Regions from separate parts of the Homo sapiens genome. Here region 2 is linked to region 1. The links are contacts of gene promoters, found by promoter capture Hi-C in blood cells and fetal thymus (Javierre and others, 2016). All regions are on one chromosome and are shown on one strand. Each heading gives the region's core, a stretch centred on a gene start or on the middle of the fragment in contact. The rest is flanking DNA. Distances are from core to core; before and after follow the strand shown.

Region 1 (5,862 bases), core at 2,627-5,126:
CTCCCCGCCCCGCCGCGTCCCCGGCCCCCATTCCAACGGCGACGCGAGCAAGGTCGGCCCGGCGGCTCTCCGGCCCGAGGCGGTGCTTCTCTCGTGGGCGCCTTCGGCCCATACGACCCTCGGTCGGACAGTCCGACCACAGCCGCCCCGCAGCCCCCGCCTGAGGGGAACTTGTAGGCGCCGGTGGGTCTCCGCTGACTCCCGCCCCGCACTCACCTGCCCCACGGGCCACCTCAGCGCCAATCCGGGTCGGGTTAGCAGCTTCCCCACTCGCACCCAGTCAGCGCTCAGCGGCGCCTAAGCGCACGCGTGGCGGGGCGTGGCATGGGCGGCCGCGGGTCATGCTGGGGGCTGTAGTCGTTCCCGCCCACTAGGCGGGGCGCGTCCAGGGGCTTTGCGCCCCCATCCCAAGGCCAGCATGCATAGCGATGATTTCTTCGTCTGCACCGCAGCCTGAGAAGCTTGGGACAGTATGGTGTGGACCAGCAGTCAGGGTGGTGGGAGATAGACGCTGCAAATAACTTGCTAATTTTTTTTTTTTTTTTTTTTTGAGATGGAGTCTCGCTCTGTCACCCAGGCTGAAGTGCAGTGGCGTGATCTCGGCTCACTGCAACCTCCACCTCCCAGGTTCAATCAGTTCTCTGCCTCAGCCTCCCGAGTAGCTGGGATTACAGGCGCCCGCCACCACGCCCAGCTAATTTTTTTGTATTTTTAGTACAGTATTTTTAGTAGAGACGGGGTTTCACCATGTTGGCCAGGCTGGTCTCGAACTCCTGACCTCAGATGATCTGCCCGCTTCAGCCTCCCAAAGTGCTGGGATTACAGGCGTGAGCCACCGCGCCAGGCCGGAAAACGAAATTTTCTGAGTACCTTCTGTGTCAGATTCTATGCTGTGCAATTCCCATCTCACCAACCCTCACATCCACCTAGGCTTCATATCACCTTTCTAGGGACTCCTAACCCTCGTGCTTCCACTAAAGCTGTGTTTACAAACATCAGGCTCTCCTGGTTCTTAAATGAAACTGAGCATCAGCCAGGGAAAGAGGGCATTAAGTGTCCAGGTGTCTGACTTCAGCTGAGCAGACATTTCATCAGTTGCCCCAAGTTCTGCCCAGAACCTGACATCTGGGTAGTTCTGATGCTGGAGTCCGTGTGAATTTAAACCAATCTTAAAGAAAATACAACAGCCTGGGTTAACAGAGTGAGACCCTGTCTCTACAAAAAACAACAAAAAATGAACCACGTGTGGTTGTGTGTGCCATAGTCCCAGCTACTCAAGAGGCTGAGGTGAGAGGATCGCTTGAGCCCAGGAAATCAAGGCTGCAGTGAACTGTGGTCATGCCACTGCACTCCAGCTTGGGCGACAGAGCAAGATCTTGTCTATATATATATATAAAAGATAGATATATGAATGTATATTATATATAATATATATGAATGTATATTATATATAATATATATGAATGTATATTTTATATATATACATAAATGTACATTTAATATATATATGTTTTCCAGTGAACACGCAGACCACCCATCAAATTAAAATGTTACATGGGAAAATCAGATTACAAAGTTGCATACAAGTATGTAAATACAAAAATAAAGGAGAATGGAAAAGGAAAGAAGACAAGAGATGCACCAACAAATCCACCCATTCAAATAGTCCAGGAAGAAACCAGGTCAAATCGCCAATCACTGGAGATCATTAGTCTAACAGAATTGTTAGGACAGGAACAAGACTGTTATTTCCTTATTTTCTATGAGGAAATGTATTAACTAAAATCCATGGTATCCTATATCCCCAGTATCTGTTATGTAATATAAATTCTCACATTACAGATAAACTGATAGTAGTTGCTGCCTCCAAGTTGCCCATAGCAGAGAAGGAAGTAGACAGAATATCTGGTCAGAGTCCCATGACTTAATTTCCTTGTGTCAGACTTAGTATCCTTTCAAGATTTTTTCTGTTTTGTTTTTTCAGATGGAGTCTCGCTCCGTTGCCCAGGCTGGAGTACAGTGGCATGATCTTGGCTCACTGCAACTTCTGCCTCCCAGGTTCAAGCAATTCTCCTGTCTCAGCCTCCCAAGTAGCTGGGACTATAGGCGCCTGCCACCACGCCCGGTTGATTGTATTTTTAGTAGAGACGGAGTTTCACCTTGTCGGTCAAGCTGGTCTCGAACTCCTGACCTCAGGTGATCCACCTGCCTCGGCCTCCCAAAGTGTTGGGATTACAGGCGTGAGCCACCACCGCACCCGGCCCTTTTCAAGATTTTTTAGAGATGAACAGAGTAACTCTTTCTGGAAGTTGAGCAAATGGCTCTATGCTATCCCTGCTTGCTTGCTATACTAGCCTATGTTCAGAATTTGGTTTTCAGAATTGTCTTCTATTGTTTTTCCAAAAGGATAAGCTCTTCTCTTAGGTTGGCTTTAAGTGACAAGGGCTCGCTGTCACCCAGCCTGGACTAAACTCTTGGGCTCAAGTGACCCTATCGCCTCAGCTTCCCAAGTAGCTGGGACTGTAAATGCGCATCATCGCAACCTGATTTCCTGGCTACTTTTAAATAAAACTGGAACCGATTCAGCCTCCTCTCCCTCACAACATTCCTAACGAGGCAGTCTTCCAGCTTCTGCCTGACCTGGGGGATTGAGTGTAGGTTGCTAATCTCAGTGGTTCCAATGTCTGGCCCCAAGCCAGTCTCAGTAATGGGTATTGAGCTCAGTGTGTCTCTTGGGGCAACACACAATCAAGTCACTCTTCCTGCACCTGGCAATATTTGAAGTGCCGAGGAGTTTTCTTCTGTATAGGATAAAGAGCCCTAACATTCCTCCACCACAAGATCTTTTTGGAGGTTGGCTCTCCAGTTCATCTCTATTCCTCAGACTGGGTATCCAAAATTGAATGTAATGCCAAGAGTGCGGAGCAGTAAGCCTCTGGTGGCTTTTTGGGCACTGGACAACCATTAACACCTCCTAAAACAGTCTTCTCTCAGTTCTGGTGCATACTGAGTTTAAGATTAACTTATTTACATTGATCTTTATTAACTTTTTCCTCTAGTTTAGGACACATCATTTCAGCCGATTTAGGTTAGAGATGAAAACTTATTTTACCAAATAAACATACTTGTTAATTCTCCCAGTTTTGTGTCATCTGCAAATCTGATAAACAAAAGCTTTCATTTTCATCTATGCCGAAAAATATGTAGGATGAGAATGGGCTAAATAACACTAGTGCTCTCCTGGCAGGTAGGTAATTAACTCAATCTTTGGCTACAGTTGCTTCAATCAGCTATAAATCCATGCAACAAGGAAGTCGGGCGCAGTGGCAGAAGCTGGAAGACTGCCTAGTTGCCAAGTATCTGATGTGCTCTTGCTATTGGAAATACAACAAGGAATGACACAGACAACGTTCTTGTCCAATGGCACTTGCTTACACTGTAAACAAGTAAAAAAAGAAAACAAGATTAGGCTGGGTGTGGTGGCTCATGTCTATAATCCCAGAACTTTGGGAGGCTGAGATGGGCGGATCACTTGAGGTCAGGAGTTCAAGACCAGCCCGCCCAACATGGCAAAACTCCATCCCGTCTAAAAATACAAAAATTAGCCAGGCATGGCGGCAGGCGCCTGTAATCCCAGCTACTTGGGAGGCTGAGGCTGGAGAATCGCTTGAACCTGAGAGGCGGAGGTTGCAGTGAGCCAAGATTGTGCTACTGCACTCTAGTCTGGGTGACAGAGCAAGCCTCAACAACAAAATCCATGCAACAAGGAATAAAGACTGTCAGCGGCCCTGATGAAATCAATATACTCAATTAGCATTTCCCTGCTGTATAAGCCTTATCAAAAGATGAAATGAGCTTGGGCACAACTTCAGCTCAATCAGCCTGATGGTCACATCAGGGTTTGGTTCTTTTTTTTTTTTTTTTTAAGTATTTACTGTAGTTCCAAACTTCATCACTTATACTAGCCAAAAATAACCGAAATAAAAGGTATCTGACCATTGACTCAATCACTGAGTCCAGGTTATTTTGCTAGACCTAGATCAAATTCACTTTTAGAAGACAGGACCAGAAATTTCTTGCTACTTTACAAGCAAATGAACACGTGAAAAGGACTAAACTTGAGGCAGCTGGAAAATATGCCTTGAAAGAACAGAGATCAAGTATGAACTACATTTACTATGCAAGAGCAGAGTCAACTTCAACGCTCTTTGTTTTTGCCTTGTTGAGAAATGTGAGACTGAGAAACAGGAAAGCACCATGGGAAGAAGAAAGTGCTGTACTAATTTAAGGTAACAATTCTCGAGGTAAAATAAGGCATTATAGTAACACAATTTTCATGCCTCAGCAATTAACAATGATTTTCGTTTAATTCTCTTCCAACTCTACAGACATAATTCTGCTTTCACCTTCATCACGCTTTCATATGGTTTTAACAGGGGATACACCTCCTCTTCTAAGAATCTCTGCACCTGCCAGAGGAAAGCAAATACAAGACAAAAGAAAATGTTAAGATATTAGCAGATAATACCTTTTCCAATGTCAGGGGATACCACTGAAACCTAATTTGATGAAGCTTTTACTCCAACACTGAGCTTGTTTTCCTCAACTGCCTATCAGGAATTTCTGCCTAGACACAGATGATTCAACCACCATGCCCACATGCTCACCAACCTTTCCCGCAAACTGGCCCAGCCTGTGTTCTCTCAGGTGGTTTCACCATTTCCATCCAACCTAAAAATCACCACAGCTTCTTTCCTCCTGCTTCCCAGCCCTCTTCAAGTAGCCACCAAGAGCTTAACCTCCTCTCCCTCCCCGGTCTGTGTCTCTCACCACTGCCTTCACTCAAGCTCTCATCATCTACTGCTTGGCCCGTTGCAGTAGCCTCCTTATTGGTCTCCTACCTCCAGTTTTAGTCTTTTAGCCCTCAGTCCTTGCACGTACTGCTTGGTATCATAATGACCTATTTACAAGTATTCACCACTAAGTTTTGAGCTCTCTGAAGATGAGGATTATCTATTCATCTTTGTATTTTTTTTAAGACAGGATCTCATTTTGTCACCCAAGCCAGAGGGCAAGGGAATGAATATGGCTCACTGCAGCCTTGACCTCCTAGGCTCAAGCTATCCTCCCGCCTCAGCCCTGAGTAGCAGAGACTACAGGCGCACACCACCACACCTGGCTAATTTTTGTATTTTTTTGTAGAGACAAGGTTTCACCATGTTGCCCAGGATGTTCTTGAACTCCTGAGCTCAAGCAATCCTCCTGCCTCGGCCTCCCAAAATGCTAGGATTACTGGTGTGAGCCACTGCGCCCAGCCTATCTATTCATTTTAAAATCCCCAGAATTAAATACAGTACCTGAACACATACTGAGCACCTAGTATATACTCAGGCATTTCAATCATTACAACACTGAGATATTTACTTTTACCTTCTCAGCCAGTAAATGCCAGAGGTTACGATTTAACCCAGATCCACCTGACAATAAAACCTAATTCTTTGTCCATTATACCACATTCTCAAGACCAAAAGATAATTCCAAAAAATCTACACAAAGAAATAAAGGCAGCTCAAAACAGCGGTATCTTGGTCAGTTGTGGGGGCTCATGCCTATAATCCCAGCACCACTGCACTCAGCACCACTGCACTCCAGCCTGGATGAGAGACTCTGTCTCAAAAAAACAAAACAAAACAGAAACAAAACCGAAATATCTAAGTTTTAGCCAGCAACCTGCTCTGATTTTCTTCTAACTAGCCCATTCCCACCATACCTCCTATAAAGCAAAAACATCAAAGAGAGTACCCCAGGTTCTGCAGCCCAGCAGAAAAGAGGCTTCTTGGAAGCTTACCTGCTGGGAGGCAC
Region 2 (5,862 bases), core at 2,468-4,967, 800 kb after region 1:
GCCCCTAAAGCCCACCCTGAGCTCCCCACGACTGAGTCTCTGCTCCAGGGGACAGCCCTATGGACAGCCACGTCTCCTGGGTCTCTGTTTGTGGAACCCTCCTTGGCCCCTCTCCCACCTGACCCAATTCAGCTATGAACTCTCAGGCCAGCAGCGGCTGCAGCCACCGGGTCCAGAATCCTCCAACTCGTAGGCACACAGCATCACAGCCACCAAGTCTTAGGCTCACACACTCTTTGAAACACAGAATTTTGCAGCCTTTGAATGACAGAAGCTTAGAATTTCAGTGTCGCTGAGCCTTAAATCTTAACTTTGAACCCTTAGACTGTCGCAGAAGTTTTCAGTCTGAGTGTCCCAGAGCTGACACCTTTAAAGTTGCTGTGCTTTTGAGTCGCCACATCTCTGGCCTGAAGAGAGTCCGTATCCCACCAGTTAAGGCCGAGACCTGAACCACCTCTATCCCAGTCCAGCCTCAGCAGCCCTGGCCATGGGGATGCCGGGGGAACCCTCGCTCTGCGCAGCTCCCGGGACTGAAAAGTCCCTCCTGATGGAGGGGGGCTGCTTTCTGCCCCACCCCTTGGACCCAGGGCTCTCTCCAAGACAGACAAGAGGCAGGCCCAGCTCCTCCCGAAACCAGTACTCCTCTCCCTCCTGGGCCAGCCCCACTGTTGTCTCCAACCCCAGGCCACAACCCACATGACCTGAGGATGGAGGTGAGAGGGGTGGTGAAAACCAAGGAGACAGTGGCCCCAAGGACTCTGTTTGCCCAACAGGCCAGAAATATGGAAAACTGGGTGGGTTCCCAGGGGCTGGCTCACTCAGTGGTCAGGCGTCAGGGTGCCTGAGATCAAGGCAGCCCCCATGGCGTGTGTGGCTAACACCCTGGGCTCCCAGGGCTGGAAGGGGTGATTCGTCTGCCGTCTCCTTTTTAGGTGGAGGTGCTGAGGCTCAGAGAGAGGAGACTGCCCAGGGTCACACACATGGCAGACAGGACTTGACCACCCCCATCTAGGGGCCTCTCCGTGACACGTGGGCAGCACCCCAGCCAGCCCAGCCAGAGCCCATCAGAGACGCAGCTGGGTCAGACTCCCAGGCCAAGTCCTCTGAGCCATGCCCCTGCCTCCAGCCCAGAGCAGTATTGCCCATCCAGACCCCCTAAGGTTCAAAGAAGCAAAGTGACTTACTCATGGTCACACAGCACCCAAGTGACAGAGCCAGAATCAACTCTTGTCATCTCACCCAGGAAAGGCCCCTGAGACATTGTGAAATTGTCCCCCTGGTCCTCCTACCAGCCTTTCTCTTCCTAAAGGCCCAAAATTCCTGCGGCCGCCCCCTTCTCAGGCCTGGCACTCCTCTGTTCACATGCCACAAGCCCCTGAGGTTTCCCCAGTGCTTTGTATTAAAACTAGCCACGTAGGCTGGGCACAGTGGCTCACACCTGTAATCCCAGCACTTTGGGAGGCCGAGGCAGGCGGTTCACGAGTCAGGAGTTCGAGACCAGCCTGACCAACATGGTGAAACCCCATCTCTACTAAAAATACAAAAATTAGTAGGGCATGGCGGTGGGTGCCTGTAGTCCCAGCTACTCGGGAGGCTGAGGCAGGAGAATTGCTTGAACCTGGGAGGCGGAGGTTGCAGTGAGCCGAGATCGCGCCACTGCACTCCAGCCTGGGTGACAGAGCGAGACTCCATCTAAAAAAAAAAACTAGCCAAATGGGTGGTCCCTGCTTCCCTCTTCCCCGGGCACTCCCTGGGACAGACACCAGCTCTGCCTCTTTGTCCTCAGTGTCCCAGGGCAGATGTCAGTGAGTGCTGGGTGAACTAATTACCGAGCAGACCCTCTCACCAAGCCTGAGACGCTGTGAGCCGTCCCCCAGAAGGAGCAGGGAGGCTCTTAGCCCCCACCCAGCAAGGAACACCCAGTTCTGCATCCCACTCCAGCAGAGACCCGCTGGTTTCCAAAAGTTAGGGGGATCCAGGGCCCACGATCACCTCAGCCCCCTACAGAAGGGAAGCCTGGCAGTCCTGCAGCCAGTCTCAACATCCCAGCCTGCATCTGGCATCCCTGGATTCCAGGGCAGGACTCAGGCCTGCACCTGACCCACCAGCTCCCCGCACCCTGCCCTGTGTGGCCACAAGCACCAGAACCTCGAGCCACATATGGGCATTTTTTGGTGGGACCCTCAAACCACAAGGCCACCATGGCTTGGGTCCCCAAGCCTCCTCCTCAGTGGTCCCCAGCCCCCACTTCACCCTGCAAGCCAGTGCCACACAGTCCTTCCAGAGCACAGATCTCTCCAGACCCTGCTTCAAATCCTGCCCTTGGAGCACAGTCCCATCCCTCATGCAGCCTCCAAGGCCCTGCAGGGCTCCCGCCACACCTGCAGCCTCACCTCACTCCTCTCTGCCCCTCAGGGCTCCAACACTGCCTGCAACTCCTCCCTTCTCCAGGCTTCGCTCCTGCCATGCCCTCCTCCTGCCTCCCACTACCCTCTCTACCCAACCAACGCTCTTCCTTATTGAGGAGTCAGCTCTGGCATTGCCCATGTACACCCAGCAAACACTGCCAGAGCACCCACGATGTGCCAAGCACTGTGCCAGGTGCTAGGGTCCCCATCCCAGTCATCTGACAGTACCCCAGGGGAGGCAAATGTTAGATTCAGAATTCCACAGTTAGATGTGACAGTTAGATATGAAGCAGAGGAGGAATCCCAGAGGGCTTCCCTGAGGAGGTGATGCTTAAGCTGGGATTTTAAGGATGTAGCAAAGGATTTGGCCAGGTCCAGGGGGAAGGGAAAAGCTTTTCAGACAGGGGGAAGAGCCAGTGAGAGGACCCTGAGGCTCAGAAGAGCACAGGGGGGAAGCCAAGTGGTGGGAAGTGAGGCTGGGTGGAACACACAGGCCCTGATGGGTTGGATTAGGACTTTGCTCTGCACCTCCAGGACCATAGCAAATCATGACAGTCTTAAGCAGGGGGAACATGAGCCCACTGGAGGCAGCAAGTGGAGGCAGGAGGCCTGGGAAGAGGCTGCTCGGAGGCACAGTAAGGAGAATGAGTCCTGCCCTGTGTGTTGGGATCGGCTGCCCCGCTGCCCACGCCCACAGTTCCTGATCACGGCTCCCATCCTCTGTATGGTCACGGCCCATCAGGTGGCTCCAGAGTCTGACTGATCTGCATTCCCAGCCCAGCACAGGTCTGGGGCCCACACTCAAGGACTTTCTGAGCCAGCCAGCCACTGGACTGACCCCACAGCCACCAGCAACTTCCAGAACCTTCACATCAGCAGAACACCAGGTCCTCATCCATTTGAGGTCTCCCCAGACCCACCCTCTGAGCTCGCTCACCACCACCAAGGCCCAGTGGCCTCACCGCAGACCTCAGGTCTCCCAGCCGGAGCAAGGTGTGAGCAGCAGGACTCAATCCAGCCCCCCACCCTTCAGCCCCTGCAGGGCCCCGATCAGCCGAGGCTGCGGAGGATATGGGTTGCACACCATCTTGATGCACCAGTTCCGGGGGCTGGTGGTCTGTCGCAGGCAGAAGAAGGCAATAGGCGCCAGGTCTGGGTGTGGGACATGAGGATCAGCTCCATCCAGAGGCTCCTCCAGGCCTGGCGGGGAGGATGGGGGGCTCCGGGGTCCGGGCTGCTCCGTGGTGACTCCTGGCTCAGCGGCTGGGGCTGCTGCAGATGAGGAGGGCGGGGAGGCGCTCTCAGCCATGTCCACACTGAGCTGGGAGCCCTGGGGAAGACAGAGAGGGTGGCACGTGGTGGGGACAGGCCTGGTACATGCTCCCCAACCTGCCTCTCCACCAATAAGTGGACGGATGCAGCTCTGACAGCCCCACCTGAGCCCCACAGGCCCCTCACCCTCACTCTTGCATGAGGATTACGAAACAGCTGAGGGCCCAGCTGCACCCAACTTGGAATCTGCTTCCAAGCTGGGTGATCATGGGGCAAGTCTGCTCACCCTGGCTGAGCCTCAGTTTTGGCAAACGAAGATAGTGGGGAGAATAAAGCCTTCTTAGAATATAATTGTGATATTAACTCTTTTTTTTTTGTCTATTGGCAATTTTCTGTATTTGAAATCTTTCATTATTTAAGAGAAAAAATGTTTAAGTAATTATAGACAGAAAAGAAAGACGGAAGGGAGGGAGAGAGGGAGAGAGGGAGGGAGGGAGGGAAGAAAGGAAGGAAGGAAGGAAGGAAGGAAGGAAGGAAGGAAGGGATCTTAACTTTTTTACAAGACTAGAGCTATGTATTTATTGCACCATCAAAGGTAAAGAAAACTTGCAAGAAAAAAGAGGTGATTGTAAAGACAGACATTATTGCCAGGACAATGCAGGTTACAAAGGCAATGTTGGGGTGCTGCAGAATCAGAGACTGGGGGAACGCTGGCAAGCCAGGAGGGAATCACAGTTGGCTTCCCTGAGGAAGTAACCCCTGAGCTGAGACCTACAGCTGAGCCCTTGACCCAGGGACCTCCCAGCCACTGCCTTACAAGGCTGAGAACCCAGGAATCTTAGAGTCTAACCTCCTTGCCTTACAGATGAAGAAACCGAGGCCCAGAGAAGGGACAGGACAGACATGTAGCAGAGTAACAGCAGAAATAGAATTCCAGTCAAAGGCCAGGCACGTGACTCACACCTGTAATCCCAGCACTTTGGGAGGCCAAGGTGGGTGGATCACCTGAGGTCAGGAGTTTGAGGCCAACCTGGCCAACATAGTGAGACCTCATCTGTACTAAAAATACAAAAATTAGCTGGGTGTGGTGGCACACGCTGTAATCTCAGCTACTCGGGAAGCTGAGGCATGAGAATCACTTGAACCCGGGAGGTGGAGGTTGCAGTGAGCCAAGATCACACCACTGCATTCCAGCCTGGGCAACAGAGCAAGACTCTGTCACCAAAAAAAAAAAAAAAAAAGAATTCCGGTCAGAGCCCGCTTCCTGGGTCTGTGGCTCAGGCAGCTGCACAGGGCCCCGTGCTCAGAAGGGCCCTGAACTTGCTTTAGAATTCTTCTGTCACCAACATGAAATTCTTAATTGCTTATCAAGAGGTCCCACATTTTCATTTTGTTCTAGGTGATGCAAATCATCTTGCTGGCTCCGACTCCAACTCAAAGCACTTCTACTCCCTGGCCTTGTCTGATGCTCACAACAACCTCAGGAGGACTATTATGCCCATTTGGCAGGTGAAGAAACTGAGGCCAAGAGAACAAAGCGGGTTGTCAAGGCTATGCACCCAGCCAAGTGAAGCACTAGGTGGTGTTGAGAGGCCAGAATCCCAGCACCAGACCCCCAGGCGGGCTTCATGACAACTGATGGTGCCCTCGCTGGCCGAGAGCCTCCGCAACCAGTCAATGGCAAGATGGGACGGACAGCCACTCCCAGGGCCTGCCCCTCACCACCTCACCCCAAAGGGTACTAGTCCCTAAAACTTTGTCCACTGGGGTCCCTGGGATCCTAGAACCCCTACAGGGCCAGTCTGAGCCGTGGGATTGAGAGATGGGGTCCACGTCCCTGGTGCCCACCCAGCTGCTGCTGGGCTGTCGACCAAGCCACCCGGAGCTGATGCATTTGGACATTTCTCTGGCTCCCGGGGGCAACGGGCAGGGGTTGGCACCTCCTGCCACTTCCCCTGGCTGGTCAGGGAGGCGGAGTTTTCTCCTGAGCTCAGGGCTTTGCTCTTGATTCCAGAAAAACAGCCACGGGCCTTACATAAGCTCCCAGGCACCTTGGCCTGCCACGTGTCAACCTCCTGGGCTGAAACGCACCCTCCCTAGGGTGGTTCCAGCTCTGCCCACCACCGTGCCAGCCTCGGAGCCCACCACTCCCTCCCCTGGCCATTTGCTCTGGCCAGATTGG

Evidence for each region. Contacts are between HindIII fragments. The CHiCAGO score rates a contact against its expected background, and 5 or more counts as called.
Region 2: a contact is called between the fragment with the promoter of CACNA1I here and a fragment that was not itself captured in region 1, in 1 of 17 cell types (erythroblasts). The highest score is 6.2, in erythroblasts.

Annotation. Positions count from the first base shown.
Region 1 is chr22:40,365,043-40,370,904 of GRCh38, reverse strand. ADSL (adenylosuccinate lyase) reads right to left here. Exons shown (of 13, transcript NM_000026.4): 12 at 5,849-5,862; 13 at 1,538-4,469. The coding sequence ends at 4,383. It overlaps SGSM3 (small G protein signaling modulator 3), which reads right to left and starts at 311. Exons shown (of 22, transcript NM_015705.6): 1 at 217-311. RefSeq lists silencers at 1-95, 156-265 and an enhancer at 416-625. The HindIII fragment of the contact is 1,399 bases long and covers 3,177-4,575 here.
Region 2 is chr22:39,568,608-39,574,469 of GRCh38, reverse strand. It overlaps CACNA1I (calcium voltage-gated channel subunit alpha1 I), which reads right to left and starts at 3,717. Exons shown (of 37, transcript NM_021096.4): 1 at 3,482-3,717. The coding sequence starts at 3,717. The HindIII fragment of the contact is 9,228 bases long and covers 2,803-5,862 here.